3 separate regions of the Homo sapiens genome follow, and all the other regions are linked to region 3. The links are contacts of gene promoters, found by promoter capture Hi-C in human tissues and cell types (Jung and others, 2019). All regions are on one chromosome and are shown on one strand. Each heading gives the region's core, a stretch centred on a gene start or on the middle of the fragment in contact. The rest is flanking DNA. Distances are from core to core; before and after follow the strand shown. Region 1 overlaps DNAAF9 (dynein axonemal assembly factor 9). Region 2 overlaps DNAAF9 (dynein axonemal assembly factor 9). Region 3 holds the start of DDRGK1 (DDRGK domain containing 1).

What was found. The method cuts DNA at HindIII sites, captures the fragments that hold promoters and counts their contacts. A contact is called where the count stands out against the background at its distance.
Region 1: a contact is called between a fragment that was not itself captured here and the fragment with the promoter of DDRGK1 in region 3, in 1 of the 25 tissues and cell types used here (mesendoderm cells).
Region 2: a contact is called between a fragment that was not itself captured here and the fragment with the promoter of DDRGK1 in region 3, in 1 of the 25 tissues and cell types used here (IMR-90 fibroblasts).

What each region holds. Positions count from the first base shown.
Region 1 is chr20:3,338,423-3,342,312 of GRCh38, reverse strand. DNAAF9 (dynein axonemal assembly factor 9) reads left to right here. Exons shown (of 37, transcript NM_001009984.3): 10 at 1,674-1,809. Among named protein-coding and RNA genes, the nearest start is that of DNAAF9, 67 kb to the left of the region's middle. The HindIII fragment of the contact is 3,575 bases long and covers 518-3,890 here.
Region 2 is chr20:3,368,189-3,372,085 of GRCh38, reverse strand. The region is part of intron 6 of DNAAF9 (dynein axonemal assembly factor 9); the gene reads left to right. Among named protein-coding and RNA genes, the nearest start is that of DNAAF9, 38 kb to the left of the region's middle. The HindIII fragment of the contact is 4,428 bases long and covers 21-3,897 here.
Region 3 is chr20:3,203,432-3,206,969 of GRCh38, reverse strand. It overlaps DDRGK1 (DDRGK domain containing 1), which reads left to right and starts at 2,288. Exons shown (of 9, transcript NM_023935.3): 1 at 2,288-2,433. The coding sequence starts at 2,343. It also overlaps a transcript of ITPA not described here. RefSeq lists an enhancer at 2,377-2,596. The HindIII fragment of the contact is 17,154 bases long and covers 1-3,538 here.

The DNA of each region.
Region 1 (3,890 bases), core at 1,056-3,555, 140 kb before region 3:
CACAGGAGAGCCCAGCCCCCTGCAGGAGAGAGCTGAATAATGAACAGAGATAAATGGGAGTAGGAGGAAGAGCAGAGACCCTGAGACAAGAACATAAGGGACATCAGAGAAAATTATCTTGGCTGGAGTATTGAAGTTGGAGTTGAGTGGCCTTCTATGGAGCTGAGAAAGTTCACCAGATCATACAAGTTCTCTTTAGCCATGTTCAAGATTGTGGCCCTTCTCCAGAAAATAACATAAAGGCAGTAAATTGGCACGTTTAAAAGATTATCACCTGGGAGGCCGAGGTGGGTGGATCACGAGGTCAGGAGATCAAGACCATCCTGGCTAACACGGTGAAACCCCATCTCCACTAAAAATACAAAAAATTAGCCAGGCGTGGTGGCGGGTGCCTGCAGTCCCAGCTACTCGGGAGGCTGAGGCAGGAGAATGGCGTGAACCTGGGAGGTGGAGCTTGCAGTGAGCCGAGATCGCGCCACTGCACTCCAGCCTGGGCGACAGAGCAAGACTCCGTCTCAAAAAAATATGTATATATATTATCATCACTGCAATGTAGAGAATCCATTATAGGAGGGCAAGAGTGGAAACAGGGAAACAGTGAGGAAGTGTTGCAGTTGTCCAGGGAAGAAATCATGGCAGCATGGACTAAGGTTGTGGCCATGAAGATGGAAGAAAATGGTTAAATAGGAAGGCTTTTGAGAAGGTTAATTAGATTTGAAGGCGGAGGAAGCAGAAGTCAAGGAGGCCTTTCAGATGGCTGGGTACCTGGGTGGATTGTGATGCCGTTTATTTCCTGCAAGAACTGGAAGGGGAGCAGACATAGGGAACATCATCACAGAGGAGAGGAGGGAGCAGCAAGCTGCAGGTAAACCCTGGGACTATTCGGAGACCAGGTGGAAGAGGAGGGTGACTGACTGGGGAGACTGAGGGGAGTGCAGTCTTGCACTGCAGTTCTTGCAGTGGAGGGTGGGAGGGAGTCAAGTGCTTCTCAGAGACCAAGGAAGGAAGGAAGACCTGAAGACTATCTGTTGGATTTGCTGTATGCTACATGGAAGTCACTTGGTGACTTTGGCAAGAACTCTCTGGGTGAAATGACTGAGGAGGCTGATTAGAGTGGGCTGAGGAGTGAGCAGAAAGTAGGGGAGAGGAAAAGTTCAGCCAAGAGGACAGGGAGGAAGGGGGTGGGTACAGAGCCAGGTATGTGTGGTATTGAGAAAATTTGCAACCCTCCTGTGCTCCTTCCCTATTGAAAGTTACTCAGGAATTGGTGACTGCCCTATTGTCTGTCTAGTCCAAGTATCATAACTGTCATCCTTTAAGACTCATATTTCTATTAAAATTCTATTTTATAATACCGGAGTTTTGCTCTATCACTGTATCATGGACAGCAAGCTTATGGAACTTATTCCTCAAAAAGTGGGACATGCTGAAAATACAAACCTAGCTTGAGTTTAGTTATGTCCCTAAATGTTAACTGATCCCTGTGGGTCAGTAGGGAGACAGCTGGCATCCGTTTCCAACCAGCCAAGGATATTCGGTCGACTGTACTGACTGACCACTTTGCTCAGGCCGCAAGTGTCCCTCAGAAAAGCCTGAGGACTTATTAAGGTCATGGAAGGTTGCCTTGGCCAGGAACTCTTTTCTAATCACATGTTTTTGACTTCCCTCTCTAGCCCTAACCGGCAGCCATTTGTTCTCTTTGGTAATCACTCCACACGAGAAAACCTGAATGCTGGCAACTTTAACTTCCCTTCTGAAGGACATCTGGTACGAAGCACTGGTCCCGGCGGGAGCTTTGCCAAGCACATGGTAAGTGGCTGGACTGCCTGGTGCTTGATTAGTTTTATTATCAAGTTGTGGGGGTGGGGTGGGTGGGGGGAGCTAGACAAAAAGAACCTTTTCCAGTTAGTGTGTTGATTTAACCCTGAATTTGAAGTTGTTCTAGAGTGAAAAGAAGTGATTAGAAACTGTTTGTACTTTTTTTATAGTACAAACTAGGTATGATTTGAAAGCATCACATTTAATTTTGAAATACTTGAAGGAAAAAGGTTAAGAACGTAGTTTCACAAACCAGTCTTTAAGTTGTCAGAGTAATATTGTCAATAGAATTTTTAAAATTCAAAATAATTTGAAGATAGTTATTCCAAGCCTAAGTTTGTTATGCCTTGACTGTTAACATTTAAGGACAGAAGCCAACCTTGATGATCATTGTTTATTGAGAGTGCCAGAGAGAAGATTTTTGCATTTGGTGGCAGATTGTCTGCTACATTCTTTTAAAGAAAACATTAGACCTGAATATGAGACTTAGATTGTGAAAGTCTATGCTATCTCAGTGGAATTTTGAGTATTTTCAAAATGTCTCTGGCAATCAGGAAAGCTGTGGTTAGTAGGTACTAGTTTTTTTGTTTGTTTGTTTATTTTTTGAGACAGGGTCTCACTCTGTCACCCAGGCTAGAGTGCAGTGGCACAGCCTTGGCTCACTGCAGCCTTGACCTCCCAGGCTCAGGTGATCCTCCCACCTCAGCCTCCTGAATAGTTGGGACCACAGGCACATGCCACTGTAGGCTTCCTGTCTTCCCTAGGAGAGGGGGAAATAGCTAAGAAACACTTTTGATGATCACAGCCTGGAGACACAGGCCTGCTAAAAGACTGAGATTTAACCGTAAAATCATAGAATGTTTCCCTCCCCCATTACCTTAGCAGAGGTCTACAATATAATAGGGGGTTACTGCTGACAGAGCTGCAAGGTACATCTAAGATGGAGTTCACAGGGAACCCAAAGAAGAAAAATGGGGAAGAAAAATAGAAGAATACTAGAGGGATTTGAAGTCCCTGGCACCTACAGCTTCAGAAAACATTAAACAGAACCTAACTCCCAGCCAGATTAACATAAAATCCCACATTAAAAGTCTGTTTCTTCAGTTCCTGTTACCTGATACATCATTTTTGGCTTTCAACAAAAAATTACAAAGCATGCTAAAAGGCAAGAAAAAACACTATTTGAAGAGACAGTGCGACTATCAGAACCAGACTCAGATATGACTCATATTTTGTAATATACAGATTATTAAAAATGACTATGATTAATGTTAAAGGCTCTAATGGAACACATAGGCAACATGTAAGAAGAGATGAATAGTGTAAACAGGGAGGTGGAAACTTGAAGATAGAATCAAAAGGAAATTCTAGGATTCAAAAGCACTGTAATAGAAGCAAAGCATACCTTTAATGGGCTTATCAGTAGAGCAGACATATCCATGGAAGGAATCAGTAAGCGTGACATTGGTCAATAGAAAATTCCCGAACAGGAGTGTGAAGAGAAGAAAACAATGAGAGAAAAAAAAAATCATCCAAGAACCAGCCGGGCACAGTGGCTCACACCTGTAATCCCAGCACTTCAGGAGGCCGAGGCAGGTGGATTGCCTGAGGTCAGGAGTTCGAGACCAGCCTGGCCAATATAGTGAAACCCCATCTCTACTAAAAATACAAAAAATTAGCTGGGTGTGGTGGCGGGCGCCTGTTATCCCAGCTACTAGGGAGGCTGAGGTGGGAGAATCGCTTGAACCCAGGAGGCGGAGGTTGCAGTGAGCTGAGATCGCACCATTGCACTCCAGCCTAGGCAACAAGAGCAAAACTCCGTCTCAGAAAAAAAAAAAAAAAAAAATCATCCAAGAACCCTGGGACAATTTCAAAAGGTATAATGTGCATGTACTGGGAATACCTGAAGAAGAAAGAGAAGGAAACGGAAGAAGTACTTGAAGTAGTCATGGCCAAGAATTTTCCAAAATTCATGACAAAGACACAAAACCACAGACCCAGGAAGCTTAGAGAACACCAAGCAGGATAAATCCCAAAATATCTATGTGTAGGCCTATCCTATTCAAACTTCA
Region 2 (3,897 bases), core at 985-3,484, 170 kb before region 3:
GCCCAGATGTGTTTTGTTCCTCATGTGGTAGGTGCCAGCATGAGAAAGAAAACCAGGCCCAGCCACAGCTTTTACTTGCCATTTATGCTGGGCCAAACTGAGTCATCGATATAGATAATTTTTTCTTCCTGGGAAGCAGTACAGGGAAGTTCCTCTGCTAGGGCGTTTTCTGCCTCTAACTTCCTCCTTCTTACTCTCCCACTGCTGGAACTGTGATCTGGTAATGTAAATTTACATCAATCAGCTCCACAAGGGGAGGATCCTAATAGCAAACCTCTAAATAATGAGTAACCAGTGAGCATTCATTCATCTGTTTATGGACAAATAGATCTTCATATTGAAAGATAGAATAAGAATTAGGAAAAGGGTCAACAAAATGTAAGAAAGAGACCACAACATATTAGATGCAGGGATAGATCAGCATGCTTTAAAAAAAGATTTTCTGCCGGGCGCGGTGGCTCACACCTGTAATCCCAGCACTTTGGGAGGCCGAGGCGGGCGGATCACGAGGTCAGCAGATCGAGACCATCCTGGGTAACACGGTGAAACCCCGTCTCTACTAAAAATACAAAAAATTAGCCGGGCGTGGTGGCAGGCGCCTGTAGTCCCAGCTACTCGGGAGGCTGAGGCAGGAGAATGGCGGGAACCCGGGAGGCGGAGCTTGCAGTGAGCCGAGATAGCGCCACTGCACTCCAGCCTGGGCCACAGAGCGAGACTCCAGTCTCAAAAAAAAAAAAAAAAAAAAAAAAAAAGATTTTCTTCAAGGAACAAAAATAATTGAGAAAATTTCTCTTTTTGGTACTTTTTAGGAACAGAATTTATAAAAAGAGAAATGAGATCTAGCAATGAGGTGAGCAATCAAAATTAAAAAGGGAGATGGAAGACATATAAGAAAAGATTGTAGGAAGTCTCAAAATTTATTAGTAGAATGAAAACTTACATTAAAAAAAGATATAAAAAATCTAATCAGTTGACACACTTGAAAAGCTTTTCCAGAATACAGAGGAAGGGGCCAAGTAGATTAAAGCAATGGGAAGGAAGATGATGAAGTGGAGAATAGAGAATGGAAATTGGTGATATTGAAAGGAAAGAATTAAATTAAAGGTTGTTATGTAATAGTCTGTACCTCCCTCTACCGCTCTCCTCTCCCCTCAAGTGACAGTCAACCAGGCATTTGCAGATGCCACCTCCACCCTAGGAAAAACAAAGAAGAGATTTGGGTGGAGGTTTTGTAAAAAAACTGAAAAGGGCCTGGTGAGTGGCTCACACTTGTAATCAAGCCTAGCACTTTGGGAGGCCAAGGCGGGAGGATCGCGTGAAGCCAGGAGTTCAAGACCAGCCTGGCAACAAAAAAATTTTAAAAAAATTAGTCGGGCACGGCTGGGCGCGGTGGCTCAAGCCTGTAATCTGAGCACTTTAGGAGGCTGAGGCGGGTGGATCATGAGGTCAAGAGATCGGGACCGTCCTGGCCAACATGGTGAAACCCCGTCTCTACTAAAAATACAAAAATTAGCTGGGCATGGTGGCAGGCACCTGTCATCCCAGCTACTCAGGAGGCTGAGGCAGGAGAATCACTTGAACCTGGGAGGTGGAGGCTGCAGTGAGCCAAGATCATGCCACTGCACTCCAGCTGGACGACAGTGTGAGACTCCATCTCAAAAAAAAAAAAATTAGCGAGGCACAGTGGCATGTACCTACAGTCCCACCTACTTGGGAGGCTGAGGCCGGAGGATAGCTTGAGCCCTGGAGCTCCAGGCTGCAGTGGGCTGATTGAACCACTGCACTCCAGCCTGAGCAACAGAGTGAGACACTGTCTCAAAATAAATAAATAAAAATGAAATAAATAAACTGAAAGGCAAGACAAAACCAAGAGATTTCATTGGCTAGTGTAGTTTTTGCTTCCTGAGAGTAAACCTGTTCACATTTTGGCATGTAGAATATAAGGGGATGGAGACCCAGTAATAGAAGCTCTGCATAACAGTTATCAGGAATATACACCTTCCAGTTAGCCTTTTCATTGCCTCATTTCAAAGTATGAATAGGAAGCCAAAGATCACCAGACATTTGATTAAACAGCAGTAACTCAAAAGAAAAAGATCAATTTTTTTTTTTAAAAGAAGACCAGTTCATTAAGACCCAAAGATAATTTAAGGTATAGAAGAAAACTTGACATAAAACTCTTTTTGGATGCCCAGAAAAATGTAAGATTTGTCAACCATAGGACAAGTGAATGTTGTAATAACTGAATGTATGGAAAATACGAGCTCTAGGAAATCATAATTGATAAAATCAATAGAGGGGTGGAAGGTAAAGTTAGGAAACTCCTTAGAAAGGTAAAATAAAAACATCACGGAGATAGAAAATATTGATAAAAAAGTTAAAAGACTTTAACCTTTAAAGTTAACTTTAGGCCGGGCTTGGTGGCTCACACCTGTAATCCCAGCACTTTGGGAGGCTGAGGCAGGCAGATCACTTGAGGTCAGGAGTTCAAGACCAGCTCGGTCAACACAGCGAGACCCCCGTCTCTACTAAAAATAGAAAAGTAGCCGGGTGTGGTGGCACACGCCTGTAGTCCCAGCTACCTGGGAGGCTGAGGCAGGAGAATTGCTTAAACCCAGGAAGTGGGGGTTGCAGTGAGCTGAGATCGCACCACTACACTCCAGCCTGGGCGAAAGAGCGAGACTCCATCTGAAAAAAAAAAAAAAGTTAACTTTAAATGTTAGAAGACTGATCTAAGAAGTCTAATATCCAATGAGTAGAATTTCTGGAAAGAGGAGGCCACGATACCATAAGGGAAGAAATCTTTTTAAAACATAAACATTCCCAATCATAAAGAGAAATAAAAGGTTTTAAATTAAATCACTTAAGTATGAATGGGAAGAGGAAAAAAAACCCTTAAATCTGTCCGTGACATTTCAGACACTAAGGATAAAAGAATATCCTTTTTTTTTTTTTTGAGACAGAGTTTTACTCTCCTTGCCCAGGCTGGAGTGCAATGGCACGATCTTGGCTCACTGCGACCTCTGCCTCCCAGGTGCAAACGATTCTCCTGCCACAACCTCCCGAGAAGCTGGGATTACAGGCATGCTCCACCATGCCTGGCTAATTTTGTATTTTTAGAGAAATGGGGTTCACCTTGTTGGCCAGGGTGGTCCCAAACTCCTGACCTCAGGTGATCTGCCTTCTCGGCTTCTGAAAGCTGGGATTACAGGCGTGAGCCACCTGCACCCAGCCTGGATGAAAGAATATCTTTAAAAGCTTCCAGGATGGCCGGGCGCAGTGGCTCATGCCTGTAATCCCAGCACTTTGGGAGGCCGAGGCGGAGGGATCACGAGGTCAGGAGATCGAGACCATCCTGGCTAACACGGTGAAACCCTGTCTCTACTTAAAAAAAAAAATACAAAAATTAGCCGGGCTTGGTGGCGGGCACCTGTAGTCCCAGCTACTCGGGAGGCTGAGGCAGGAGAATGGCGTGAACCTGGGTGGCGGAGCTTTCAGTGAGCTGAGATCATGCCACTGCACTCCAGCCTGGGCGAAAGAGCAAGACTCTGTCTCAAAAAAAAAAAAAAAGCTTCCAGGAAGTTGGTCAGTAAGTTTGGCCAAAAAAGAAAAAAAAAGGCTTCCAGGAAGAAAAAACAAGTCACCCACCACAAAACAACAAAAACTGGTTCCCAAACCAACAAAAGCCCCCCAAAACAAAAACACAAACTAGGCATCAGGCAGTGAGGAATCCTGATTCCCTGAGAGACGGAAACAATCAATGTGAGCCCCTTGATGGTACTAGCTTATCACTTTGAGAAAGTTTCCAGACACAGCATAGAGAAGAGAGGATCCAGGTGGTGCCCAGCGCACTCCCTGAGTTAGGAGATGCAGCTGGGAGTCTGCGGGGACCAAAGC
Region 3 (3,538 bases), core at 1,039-3,538:
TGGTCCCGGCTCACTGCAACCTCTGCATATTGGGTTCGAGCAGTTCTCCCACCTCAGCCTCCTGAGTAGCTGGGACTCCAGGCATGCACCACCATGCCTGGTTAATTTTTGTATCTTTCTTCTTCTTTTTTTTTTTTTTTTGAGACAGTCTCACTCTGTCGCCCAGGCTGGAGTGCAGTGGCGCGATCTCAGCTCACTGCAAGCTCCGCCTCCCGGGTCCCCACCATTCTCCTGCCTCAGCCTCCCAAGTAGCTGGGACTACAGGCGCCCACCACCACGCCTGGCTAATTTTTTTGTATTTTTAGTAGAGACGGGGTTTCACCGTGTTAGCCAGGATGGTTTTGATCTCCTGACCTCGTGATCCGCCTGCCTCAGCCTCCCGAAGTGCTGGGATTATGGGCATGAGCCACCACACCCGGCTAATTTTGTATTTTTAGTAGAGATGGGGTTTCTCCATGTTGGTCAGGCTGGTCTCAAATTCCCGACCTCAGGTGATCCACCCACCTCGACCTCCCAAAGTGTTGGTTGGGATTGTAGGCGTGAGCCACGGTGCCCAGCTTTTTTTTTTTTTTTTTTTTTTTTGAGACTGAGTCTCACTCTGTTGCCCAGGCTGGAGTGCAATAGTGTGATCTCGGCTCACTGCAACCTCTGCCTCCCGGCTTCGAGAGATTCTCCTGCCTCAGCCTCCCAAGTAGCTGGGATTACAGGCACCCACCACCACGCCAAGCTAATTTTGTATTTTTAGTAGAGACAGGGTTTCACTGTGTTTGTCAGGCTGGTCTCAAACTCCTGAGTTCAGGTGATCCACCCACCTCAGCCTCCCAAAGTGCTGGGATTACAGGTGTGAGCCACCTCGCCCAGCCCATATTTTTTCTTTTTCTTTTTCTTTCTTTCTTTCTTTTTTTTTTTTTTTTGAGACAGAGTCTTGCTCTGTCGCTCAGGCTGGTGTGCAGTGGTGCAATCTTGGCTCACTGCAACGTCCGCCCCCTGGGTTCAAGTGATTCTCCTGCCTCAGCCTCCCGAGTAGCTGGGATTACAGGCATGTGCCACCACGCCCCACTCATTGTTTGTATTTTTAGTAGAGACAGGATTTCATCACGTCAGCTAGGCTGGTTTTGAACACTTGACCTGAAGTGATCCGCCCACCTCGGCCTCCCAAAGTGCTAGGATTACAGGGGAGAGCCACCTCATCTGGCCCGTATTTTTTCAAATCCCTTTCTCACCATTGTTCATTGGTCCTGAATTTATTTTTATTTATTTTTATTTTCTGAGACAGGGTCTCACTCTATCACCCAGGCTGGAGTGCACTGGCATGATCATGGCTCACTGCAGCCTCGACCTCCCTGGGCTCAGGTGATCTTCCCACCTCATCTTCCCAAGTACCTGGAATCACAGGTGCATGCCACCACACCTGGCTAATTTTTGTATTTTGTAGAGACAGGGTTTCATCATGTTGCCCAGGCTGGTCTTGAACTCCTAGGCTCACCTCTACCTAGACTTCCCAAAGTATTGGGTTAACAGACGAGCCTCTGTGCCTGGCTCCTGAAATAAATCTTTACTTCTGTTATCATGTATACAAAAAGCTTAATAAATTCCAGTACTGCCCTCCCCTCCCCTCCCCTTCCCCTCAAAAGAAAGAAAGAAAGAAAGAAATTCAGTGTCACAGATACAGCAAAACCCCAACCCGCTTCCCTCCTCCTAGAGGTAATCGCTATCCTGAAGTTGGTGTGCATCAGTCCCAAGCCTCTTTTCGTACTTTTTCCACGGTTGTTTCCATAAACACTATGTGGGATTGTTTAGTGATTTTTAAAACATATATAGTCCGGGCGCGGTGGCTCACGCCTGTAATCCCAGCACTTTGGGAGGCCAAGGTGGGTGGATCACAAGGTCAGGAGTTCGAGACCAGCCTGGCCAACACGGTGAAACCCCCATCTCTACTAAAAATACAAAAATTAGCCGGGCGTGGTGGCGGGCGCCTGTAATCCCAGCTACTCGGGAGTCTGAGGCAGGAGAATCGCTTGAACCTGGGAGGTGGAGGTTGCAGTGAGCCGAGATCGCACCACCGCACTCCAGCCTGTGCGACAGAGACTCCGTCTCAAAAAAAAAAAACATACATAGATGTTTTCTACTGGACATACCGTCTGCTATAATTTCCTCTTAACATTGTGGGTTTCTTTACACCCCCCAAACTCATTTTAATGTCTGACATTAAAGCCTCTCTGTGATGTGCCGCTGGGCGGGGCTCCGAGTAGTGGGCGGAGTCTAGATTGGGAAATAGGGGCGGGGCCTATGAGATCCCGGCCTCAGGGTGGACGCAGTGGTTCTGCACTGAGGCCCTCGTCATGGTGGCGCCTGTGTGGTACTTGGTAGCGGCGGCTCTGCTAGTCGGCTTTATCCTCTTCCTGACTCGCAGCCGGGGCCGGGCGGCATCAGGTAGGAGATGCCGCTGCACCAGGGTTGGTGGTACCGGGTTTTCTGGCCTTCTGAGCCTTTGTGGACCGTCGCGCCGCGGCTCCTGCGCGTGCGCACCTGGGCGGGCGGGACGCATGCGCGTCCGTGCGCTAGTCGTGTGCCGGGTGGGGCTTCCGCAGTGCCCTACCTGGAATCGGTGGCCGCGCCGCTACCCCTTTCTCTCGACTCCAAGCCAGAGTCTGGCCTCATCCCTCTCTTCACCCCCGGGAACTCCATACCTCCAAAGGCCTGAGGCCCTGGCCGGCGCACACTCCCATCCGTCACCGTCGGGGCCCTTTCCCTCTGCACCTGTTAGGGAGGCCGCAGGGGTTTTCCATTCCTCCCAGCCTGGCTCCAGAGCAGGTGCCAGGAAGGGGGCATCTGAATATTTTCTGCCTGTCCCCCACGAGCTGGAGAAGCGCGAGGCGGCTCCAGGAAATTCCTGAAGCTCTCTCCCTTCCCGCCAAGGAGAGGGCCCACTCTCCCTCCCCAATCCGCTCCCCGATCAGAAGGCCATGTCATTGGCCAGGGCACAGAACAGATACACCCATCCTCCCTCTTTCCCCCCATTTCTGGTCAGCGGGCGGGTTTGTATATGTGTTTTCCTGCTCCCTGGGCCCACAAGCTACCTCTGAGCACCTGCGCGCTCCCAGGAGCGGAAGGGACACGCTGAGGGAAGGCGGAGATCCAGCAGGTCTTCCCGGGGGAGGCTCGGCCACCGCCGGGAAGTGTACTCTCTGGCTGGGGAGCCAGATAAAACCACAGGTGGTGTTAGGCGAGAAATCAGTGGATTCCTGCAGGGGGTACTCGATGAGAGCTGGGGACATCAGGATAGGGGCCTCCTGACAGGCCAGCTGGAAAGGTGGAGCCGGGAGGGGAGAGGAGTATTCACACAGGCCCGAGGGAAGGGCTGAGCCCCCGCCTGGGACCAAGCTGTGGGCCTGGTGGAAAAGGCCTTGCCAGTCAGACTGAGAAGTCGGGGCCTTGTGCTGTGGGCAGCAGGCCGCTAAGCAGAGGAGGTGAGGCTTCCGGGCTGCCGCTCCTCCTGCCATGGGCCGGGCTGGGCTTATAGGCAGCATTGTCATTT